2 separate regions of the Homo sapiens genome follow, and region 2 is linked to region 1. The links are contacts of gene promoters, found by promoter capture Hi-C in human tissues and cell types (Jung and others, 2019). All regions are on one chromosome and are shown on one strand. The core of a region is centred on a gene start or on the middle of the fragment in contact, and the rest is flanking DNA. Distances in the headings are between cores, read along the strand shown.

Region 1 (5,182 bases), core at 421-2,920:
AAGAAGAGTTTTCCTGGGGCCTGAATAGTGTTCTTCACTGGGAGAGGGAATTTATGGTTATGAGCCAGTGTTCAGTATCAGATCACAAGCGGCAGGGGCACCTATTTTTTTTTAAATTAATGTGTGTGTGTGATATGTAAGTTCCTTTAAAGCATGGAGTCCAGGATAGAAGTCTCTCTTGCCCAGGTCTAAGGGTGCGGGGGGAAGGGGGGGGGCGCGGCGGTGGGAGGGAGTACTTTAGTGATACTAGGAATTTAATGCCAAATGTATTTGCTGTGTGACCTAGATGGCTGAATTTTTTAAAAAGTTCTTCAGCATCGAGAAAAATCCAGTTAGACCGATAGCTTAGAGAGCTGTAGCTTATTTCTAAATTTGACTTTCCCTAAAACTAAGTGTAAATGTCAGTGATATGAGGACTTTTTAAAGAAACAAAATAAAGAAACAAGATACACAAAAATAGAGCAACTATGGCCAATCTTGTTTCATCCCTTTTCATCTATGACCTTACTCATACCCCTATCCATAATAAATGACTTTCAGCAAATCCTAGATGTTCTGCATCCTATATCTTTCTAACAGATATTCTTAAAAAGTATGACCACAATACCATTATCCAATTATTCCTTGTTCAACAAGCACTTACAATTTCATCCATGTGAAAGGCACCTCATGATTTTTACTTGAGGATGAAGATAATTTCTCATGAATTCTCATTGTTTTAAGTCACCTGAAGAGGTGTGATATGCTACAATAAATCTATTTGTAGGGCTTGGCTTCAAGAACTGAAGATTCTGGACCTAGCTGATCTGGTGACAGTGAACTTGAGACCTCTAATAGCGTTTAACTATTTTTTTTTAACTTTTGGAAAGCAAGGTGTAGGAAGGGGATTTAGTTTTTCCATTAGGTCGTGGCATGTTAAGACTTGTTTCTTTTTCCAAAATGTTCAAGTTGCTGAAGAGAACTATGGACTATGGGTCAGGAAGTCCGTCGGTTTCGGGTCACATTCCGCTCCCGCAGGCCTGCGGGCCGCCCCAGCTGGTTTGTTCCCGGCGTGTTAGAGGTCAGAGGCCGAGGCCGCACTCAGTGCCTGGGTCTCGCGCAGCTCCAGGGCTCTCAGGCGACACTGGGCGTTTCCTTTCCGGCTTCGGAAAGTTTTGTTTTGGTTCAAGGAAAGGCGCCCTGTTGACCAAAGGCTTCTCAGTCTCCTCCGGGTGGCCAGCGGCCAAGTTTCCTCCAGCCCAGCGAGTCCAGACTATAGTCCGTTCGAGATCCTCGAAGGCCGGGGAAGCGAGTCTTGTGAGGAGAGAAAGCGAGTGGGCAGCCAGCCTGCCGACTCCACTGCCGCTGGCTGGCCCTTCTCTTCCCTCTGTCCCTGGGCCAGTGCCCGTCGCACCACAAACAGTGCGAGCAGTCTCCCCGGTGACTCCTCAAGGACCCAGTTCTCCACCATTCCTAAGAGAACACTCAACCCAGCCGCGCCCGGGATGCAGAGAGATCTACCAACACCCGAGAATGGGGACAGGGCGCATGCGCACACCGTGGCCGTGGCGTCTAAGTGCTCGCCCAGCTGCGGCAGCCGCTAGGTGGCGCATGCGCCCTGGAAGGTGCGGGCCGGTCTCTGGGAAGAAGGCGGCGGCGGCGAAAGGCGGGGGTGCTGTGGGGGCCGGGCCGTGTTTACACAGCGGCGGGCGGGCGCGGACGCGGAACCCGGCGCGGCGGCGGCACGATGGTCATGGCGTATTTCGTCGAGAATTTTTGGGTAAGCTTAGGATGTTGGAAGTCGTGTGTTTCGAAGTCCAAGGCTTTTGGCGCCTGAGCTTGGCCTGCGTGCGCTTCGGGCGGCGGCGGCGGCCCCTCCGGCAGGGCGAGCGTCCTCCTGCCGCGTCCCGCCTGGGTGAGGTCCGGCGGGCGACCGGTCGCCAGCCTATAGGGACTCCCGGGCTCGCAGCCCTATGGGGACGGGGGCTGTCACCGCGGCCCGGGGGCCCGCAGCGGGGCCGCCGGCCACCGGGGCTGGGACAAAGCGCCGGATGGGGCGGGAGACGGGACCCAGCCCCACCGGAGGCTCCCGGTGCCGCGCTCCGCGCGGGGCGTGCGCGGCAGCTCGGACGCGAAGGACGGGCCCGCGGCACAGCCGCCTCCCGCTGCGCGCTGGCTGGGAGCGCCGGGCGGTGGGGTTTTGCCTCCTGCCCTCACCGCGGGCCCCCCATCTGAGCGATCCCTTTTACCTCTGACGGTTTCCACACCAAATCCAGTGCGGGGTTGGGCTGGACTAGCACTTCCTCTCAGCCTCGCAGCTCGGCTCGTGGGTTTGCGCCCAGGACTTTGCCTCTGGGCCTGTTCACAAAGCGTTTAAAAGTTGGATTTAATGTAACTGGACTCCTTGGGCTTAAATGCATGGAGACCTCCCCCTACTCTGTGCTCCTTCCCCTTCCTCATTCTTTCCACCCCTTGTCTTAGCTCAGTATTAGATTCTTCTTTGAGAATTTCTCCGGCTCCCGGTGGAGTATTTTTCTGCAGTTATTGTTTTTTTTTTTGTAATGGGAAGTACAGTTCAGCCATGTACAGGAAAGGAACGTGTTTACTCAGGTATCTTTCGTGAATCCCATTTTATGCCCTGACAGTTGCAAGTACTGCAGGTCCATTTTCGTTGAGATTTAGACATATTTAAAGGGGTAATCTTTTAGCTAGTAAGGAATGTATGTTAAATTCTTAATTCTAAGTGCCTCAAGCATGGTCTTGGTTAGTAATCAGATCAGTTCATAGTTATTTATTTGTCTTGAATGTACCTTGTTTTCCACAAAGAACGTATATACTAGACCTTAGGTGTTTTGTTTTTTAAACAGCTTTATTGAGTTCACATTTCCGTACCAATACACTCATTTAAAGTGTAGTACAATTCAGAGGTTTTTTCATATGTTCATAGAGTTGTGTAAACATCACCATATCAGTTTTACAACAATTTCGTTATCCCAGAAAGAATCCCTAGACCCATTAGCAGTCACTCCCCATTTTCCCCCTGCCCCAGGCCTAGGCAACTAATGTATTTTCTGCCTCTCTGCATTTGTCTAGTCTGGACATATCCTATAAATGGGGCCATGGTGACCAGTTTCTTTCACTTAGCATAATGTTCTCAAAGTTTATCCATGATGTAGCATGTATCACTACTAATTCCTTTTTATGGTCAAATAATATTCCATTCCACATTTTATTAATATTTATCCAATCAGTGATGGACATCTGGTTGTTCCCACTTTTGGGTTATGAATAATGCTGCATGAACATTTTTGTACAAGTTTTTGTGTGAACATATGTTTTCATTTCTTTTGGGAATGGGATTCCTGGGTCAAATCGTAGCTCTATGTTTAACATTTTGAGGAACTGCCATACTATTCTGAAGTGGTTGTAGCATTTTACAATCCCACCAGCAATATCTGAGGGTTCCTCTCCACATGCTCACGAACACTTATTTGTCCTTTTTATTATAATATAGTGAGTGAACGTGAAGTAGTATTAATATTTTATTGTGGTTCGATTTGCGTTTCTTTGATGCTTAACATCACAGTTAATGTGCTTATTGCCTATTTTTATATTTTCTTTGGAGAAATGTCTATTTAGATTAATTGCCCATTTAAAAATTGGGTTGTCTTTTTTTATAATTGAGTTGTAAGAGTTTTTTTTTTTTTAATATTCTGGATACACACCTTATCTGATACATAATGTGCAAACATTTTCTCCCATTCTGTGGCCTGCCTTTTCATTTTCTTGATGCTGCTCTTTGAAGTAACTCATAAGTTTTTATTTCTCGTGAAGTCTTGGTGAAGTCCATCTTATCTATTTTTTTCTATTACTTGTGCTTTTATTGCATCTAACCCAAAAATTATTTGCCTAACCCAAAAATTACGCCTTTTTTCTTGTTTTCTTGTAAGGGTTTTATAGTTTTACTTCTTCTGTTTAGTTCTATGATCCATTTGAAGTTAATTTTTGTGTATGGTGCAAGGGAAAGGTATAACTTCATTCTTTTGCAATTGTGTATCCAGTTGTCCCAGTACCATTTGTTGAAAAGGTTCATCTTTCCCCGTTGAATTGTGGTACCATTGTCAAATATCAATCGACCAGAAATGTATGGATTCATTTCTGTATTTTCAATTCTATTCCATTGTCTTCCCTTACGACAGCCAGTAACACACAGTTTGGATTGCTGTTGTTTGGATTACAAATTTGTTTTGTATAGCAAATTTGGAATCAGGAAGTATGAGTCCTCTAGCTTTTTCCTTCTTTTTCAGGATTATTTTGACTGCCCTGGGTTCCTTGCATTTCCAGATGAATTTTAGGATTAGCCTGTCAATTTTAGGCATTAGGTTTTACAATGGCAATTTATAAAATGTTTTAAAGAGCATTTAAAAATTGATGCTCTTGTAAATGTTATGCATATTTTTGATGCATGAATGTTTTTTAAGTTGCTAACTTAATTCCAAATTGCATCTTCACATTAAAAGTTATGTTTCGTTTTCTGTTAATTGAGCTTTGAGCATAGCTTTGTTTGATGTTTTTGGCTAATATGAATAATACTTCTCTGAATATCTTTCTACACATTTTTATGTGCTTCTTGGGTATTCTTGTTACAAGAGGGATGGGAATAAACTTCAATATTTGAATTCTGGAGAGACCTCCAAATCTAATTTATGTTTTAGTTTTTGCCTTCACTTTCACTATTGAAAACAAATAGTTAATAGACTGCATTTTATTTTATTTCCTGGCTTGGAATTGGGGCTGTGAGGAGGCTCAGTGAGCTAGGAAGGTCTAGGAATTAACTAAATAATTAACTTCCGAGAATTTATAGTTGTCATTTTAGGCTGGGCATGGTGGTTCACTCCTGTAATCCCAGCACTTTGGGAGGCTGAGGCAGGGGAATGGATTGAGCCCAAGAATTGGAGACCAGCCTGGGCAACACAGTAGACCTTGTCTCTACAAAAAATTTTAAAAAATTAGCCAAGTGTGGTGGCATATGCCTGTAGTCCCAGCTACTTGGAAGGCTAAGGTAGGAGGATTGCTTGAGCCCAGGAGTTCAAGGTTGCAGTAGGTTATGATTGGTCACTGTACTCCAGCCTGGGCAACAGAGTGAGACCCTGTCTCAAAAACAGAAAACTAAAAATTCACATATTTCAGGATCATTTATAAA
Region 2 (5,361 bases), core at 1,321-3,820, 600 kb before region 1:
GAAATGGGCGCTATCATCTGAGGAAATGCTGCTACAGCGAATACAGATTGGTACACTACAAATACTTTCACCCTTTGACTCAATCCTCCCACTTCTTGGAGTATATTCTAAAAATATACTGGCAAATATAAAGAAGTTGTATGTACAAGGCTATTTGTTGCAATCCAATTTCTAATAACAGCAGACTGGAAAAAAGCCCAAATTTCCATCACTAGACAACTAGTTGTACAAATTAGGGTCTGTTCGTACAAAGGACAGGAAATGAGGAACAGCTACATCATATACTGCTATGGATTACCATTTATATGGATCACTTAAATATGTTTTTAAGTGACAAAAGTAAGATGCAAATGGGTATGTGTAGTATGCCTTAAGAAGGCGGGACCATATAGTTATTTTTATATATTTATGTTTTTGAAAAACACTACGATAAAAAAAACAAAACTTAAGTGGTTATGTTGATTTCTTTTTCAGATCTTTTTTTATAGAAATACTGCTGTTTTTGTATGTAAATTTTGTAACCTGCAGCTTTACTGACTTTATCAGTCCTAAAGGTTTTTTTGATTGAGTCTTTAGGAACCACAGTTAATTATTATGCATATTTCAAAAATGCCAAAGAAGTATATTTTAATGTTTCACCGCAGAAAAAGACACATTGGTAGATGATGGATAGTTTTGTTAGCTTGACTGAATCTTTCTACAGTATACACATAGATTGAAACATCACATTGAACTTTATAAATATACACAATTATTATTTGACAATTAAAGTAATTGACAAATTATTTTTTAAATTTAATTTTAAAAAATTAAGAAATAAAAGTTTTGAAAGTGAAAGTGAGGGACGGAAACATGAGTTCTCCGAATGTACCTTGTTTATGTATTTCATTTAGGAACCATGTAAATGCTTTGCAGAACTGTAAAGCAGAGTTAAATAAAAATGAAGAGAAAAAACAGTTCCTAAAAATTGAAAGTGAAATGAAACAAATGAACCCATGTGTCACATTGATGGCTTAAGTACACAAATTGGAATTCTTGTAGGTCATTTGAGATGTAGTAATTTGTGTATCTCTCATAGCATGTAACTTAAGGTGAAAAACAGAAGTGTAAAGAAATTGTACGTTATTGACAGTGATCATATTGTTAGTAATAATACTGATATTGTCATTTTGACCAACCAAGTGGCCTGTTGGTTGGTCCTCTCTTCCTCCCTCATTTCTCCTGCCTCTCTTTTATAGTTTGGTCCAGGCTGAAGGCTGAGACAGCAGGATTGGCACTAGAGGGCAGTGGCTGCTTCCTCCTCCTGCCACACTGTCGCCTTCCCAGCCCTGTTCCATTTCCTCACTTCCACCCAAAGGCTTCTTCCTTCTGATAAAAGGGAGCTTGTCAGGAAAATGACTAACTGGATATGGTTGATTTAACGCTTCTTTCTATTTGCAGTTTTAGCTCTGTGTAGGCTGTGATCCACCCAACCCTTTTGGAGTAAGTTTAGAAAAGTAGGGAAAGTAGAAGCATGAACAGATTTTAAAGTGCATAGTCACGTGTGTATGTGTACATGTGAAATCCAACTTCCATTTTCTCAGCAGCATTGTTGTTAACAACCATTCCTTAGACCTGAACCATCAATACATTGTCACCCATTTATATGGCTAAAGCACCCGAACAAACTTTATATTGAAAAATACTCATATAAGACTCTTGTACTTAGAAAATGAACCCTCTAGTTCAGTGTCTTCCCTCTGGTTACTGTGGGACCACTCAAGGAACAGCTTGATGAGAAATGGATTGATTCATATAACTCCAGTAGCTTTTGAGCTAGTTCTAAATATATATGTGTGAGATTGCAAGTGGAGTCCTATATTGTAAACGTCTGCATTTTACAAAGTGCATTTAATGCTTATGCCAGCAGTTATTTAAAAAGTGTTATGTAGGGAGATAAGACTATAAACTATCATAGGTGCTATTATACCACCACAGGACTATTGAAAATAATTGCTGATTTATTTCTGTAGTTATGTAACAGAACTGTTACAGTTTTTAGATCAAAATTACCTCCAGCTTGGCATGTTTGCTCTGCTGCTTTTAGAAGCCATATGCTGCACATTAAGTCATTTTCACCTTGAACATGAGGACTAAACAAGCTATTCTTTTTTAAGAACATTAAGAAGTGCTTAAGCTGCTTGTCTGCAGGCATGGTTGGGAGCCATTGTCTCAAAGGAAGATGTGCAGGTGCAAACAGTGTTATATATTTGGAAGAGGTGGAAGAGGGGCAAAGGATTTATTAGGAAGCTTGATCCCAATTAAATTCCATCAAGAAATGTGTTGAGATTGTACCCTTGATAAGGATTGAACTAAGTAAAATGCTGATTTTATTCAGAAAGCAGCTTCACATTCTCCATTCTAGTTCACCCATTTTGGGGGTTAAATACCATCATATACTTGTGACTCTACTACGTATGCCTCTAGCCCAGACCTCTCCTTCATGCCCCAGACTTGTATATCCAACAACGTTCTAGACATACCCATTTAGATGGTTCACAGCCGTCTCAATCAGGTCCAAACAGAGCTCTTGATTTTCCCTTCCAAATCTCGCCTCCCTGTCTTCTCTATCAGGAAATGATAGCACCCATCATCAAGCTATTAAAGCCCCAATTGAGAAGATAGCTTTGACACCTCCCTTTCCTTCACCCATTCAAAAATAAGTCCTTTCAGTGTAAACTCCAAAATATACCTCACATAAGTGTACTTCTCCTTCTTTTCTGTACCTTTCCCAATCTCAACTACCATTGTTTCTTATCTGGGCTATGGTGTGGGCCTCCAGAATAGTCTCCACATTTCTGTACACTCCAGTTCATTCTCTGCAACTTTTTGAACAGAAATGAGATCATTTCCCACTTTAGATGCTCTGATGGCTTTTTTAGAATAAATTTCAAAAAACTTATTGTGGAATATATATAAAGCCTATGTAATTTGGCCCTGCCTCCTCCTGCTCTAATCATTACATTGAACAAAGTTGATTCCACTGGTATATGACCTCCTTTACTTGGTGTGTTTCATTATATATGATGTGTTATTTGAACCCCCCTTTTTTTATATTAGGTATGATTTTCAAGTACTAATTTTGAATTTTGTGTGTAGCTTTTGGAATCCCTCATAGTAATACTGCTGTCTGTGTGCCCCAGTACCCTGGTTTTCACGATTTTAGGTGTATACCATACTTTTTTTTTTTTTTAAGACTCACTCTGTCGCCAAGGCTGGAGTACAGTGGCACGATCACAGCTCACTGCAGCCTCTGTCTCCTGGGCTTAAGTGATCCTCCCACTACACCAACTAATTTTTAAAAAAATTTTTTTACAGACAAAGTCTCACTGTGTTGCCTAGGCTGGCCTAGAAATCCTGTGCTCAAGCAGTCCTCCTGTCTCAGCGTCCAAAATTGCTTAGATTAAAGCATGGGCCACCTCGCCTGGCCTACCATACATTTTTGTTCATGTCCATTTCTTTTTCTTAGGGTTATAGTAAGAATAAGGAAGAAATCTTGCAGAGATGTAATGATGTGTTCTTGCTTTTTTCCAGCTGGCCAAAGTGAGGGAAAAAGTGAAGGATGTGCCTGCCCTTGTGGCCAAATTTGATGAGATCTATGGGACACTGCACATCACTGGCCAGGTCACCACTGATTCTTTGGATGCTGTGCTCTGCCACACCCCCAGGGACAGGAAATCTCACACGTTGCTATTAAACAAGAGGATGGTCAGCCGTCGCACCTTCCAGCCACTCAGCCAGTCCCTGTTGGCTGAGTAACCCTGGTTTCAGTCCACCTATGGATCTGAGGGGCCTGCTTCTAGTGAGTTATTACCTTTCCTAAGAAGCCAGGTATCGCACTTCAGCAGACAGTGTGCTGACACTTGGTCTTCTCCTGAAATTCCCAAATTCACTGAATGGTACCATGCCGATCTCTGAGAAGTTATGTTGCACCACTGTGAAGGTCTAGATGCAAGCTTGGCTCCCTCAGAAAGGCGCTTCCCTTTTGCATGGCTGAGGATCCTTGAAGGAACCTGGTCAGTCTCCGGTTCAGCTTCCGACACCAGAGTGGAACCCAGTAAGCACCATCAGGAATGAATTTCACTACAAGTGTGGATAACTCTGATTTTCAAAGGAGTAGTTACTTGCAAATTACATCCTTGCTGAATTCAGGAGGTATGAAACCCTATTTTACCATGTTAGAAAACAGCCCAGGATTTTCTCATTGCTCTGCCATCATATATGTCTATGACTTGAGCCCTTATTTTTCCATCTGCAAAACAATAATGCCTATGTGTCTTTGCATATAGATTTGAAATCTTCATTCAAGGTTTAGTAGGATCATATTTTCTCAAAAATAAGAGAAATAAGGTTCATAAGGAAACTTGCTGGGATTGTGGTTGTTTTGTTTTCTCAGCAGCACAAACAAAACCAGAATTTAGCCTTTAGGACTGCTGAGTAAGCCAAATTTAAATGACTACTGCTTTGTTCATGGGTAAGCCATGTGCTTTTCAAAATAAGTGCCACTAAAAACCACATAATGCTTTGGTTTCTATGTGGATAATAAATATTTAGTCCTATAGTTTATCTTATTTGTTAATGATTTTTCTCTCTTGAATGCCTCATATTAAAAAAAAATGTGCCATGAGAGCAGTTCAAAGCTGCTTCATACTTATGGTCTCAAATATAGTATGTGTTGAATTTTACCGTGTCTGGTCACCAGTGAGCAGAAGATACACAGTGACCCCACCTCACTTGCTCCTTTTGTTTCAGAAAGCCCAGAGGGTTGCTCAGACCTCAGGAGCTGTCTGCCAAGATTGCTGCAGACTCTTCATTGCCACCTCCAAAACTAAGACTGTTCACTTGGTTGTTGTTCTAAGGCAAGGATTATAGAGTCAGAAATTGTAGACTAGGAGAAGTCTTCTGAGTCTCCTAATTAATTCCTTCATCTTTCAGGTTAAGGAAACGATCCATGCAAGAGAGGCCCAATCTCAACTGTAGACTGTGTCCCAGTAAGAGAGTCACAGCTTCAGGTGTTTGCTGAATCCAGGTCTGAGATCACAATCCCACCTGAGGACAGGATCCGCATATGAGAGTCGCACATTGGTATAATTGATTTGTGGTAGAGCTGAGATTAGAATCCAGATTCCTAGTCTAGTATCCTTCCCACTGTACCACATTATCTCTTTTCAGAGGGGAAAAAGGAGCAGCTCTTAAGAAACAGAATACTAAGGGCCCCCATTACTGTGTGGCCCTGGGCATCCTCAGTTTCCTCATTTGGTAAATGGGGATAATGGTACCGACCTCTTAGGCTTGGTGTGAGGATGAAATGAGATAGGGAAT

What was found. Contacts are between HindIII fragments. The study calls those that stand out against the background at their distance.
Region 2: a fragment that was not itself captured here is called in contact with the fragment with the promoter of FCHO2 in region 1 in 1 of the 25 tissues and cell types used here (dorsolateral prefrontal cortex).

Annotation. Positions count from the first base shown.
Region 1 is chr5:72,954,371-72,959,552 of GRCh38, forward strand. It overlaps FCHO2 (FCH and mu domain containing endocytic adaptor 2), which reads left to right and starts at 1,671. Exons shown (of 26, transcript NM_138782.3): 1 at 1,671-1,759. The coding sequence starts at 1,727. It overlaps FCHO2-DT (FCHO2 divergent transcript), which reads right to left and starts at 1,514. Exons shown (of 2, transcript NR_186392.1): 1 at 644-1,514. RefSeq lists a silencer at 1,564-2,263. The HindIII fragment of the contact is 22,512 bases long and covers 1-5,182 here.
Region 2 is chr5:72,354,630-72,359,990 of GRCh38, forward strand. It overlaps PTCD2 (pentatricopeptide repeat domain 2), which reads left to right. Exons shown (of 10, transcript NM_024754.5): 10 at 3,574-5,361. The coding sequence ends at 3,798. Among named protein-coding and RNA genes, the nearest start is that of PTCD2, 37 kb to the left of the region's middle. The HindIII fragment of the contact is 4,646 bases long and covers 248-4,893 here.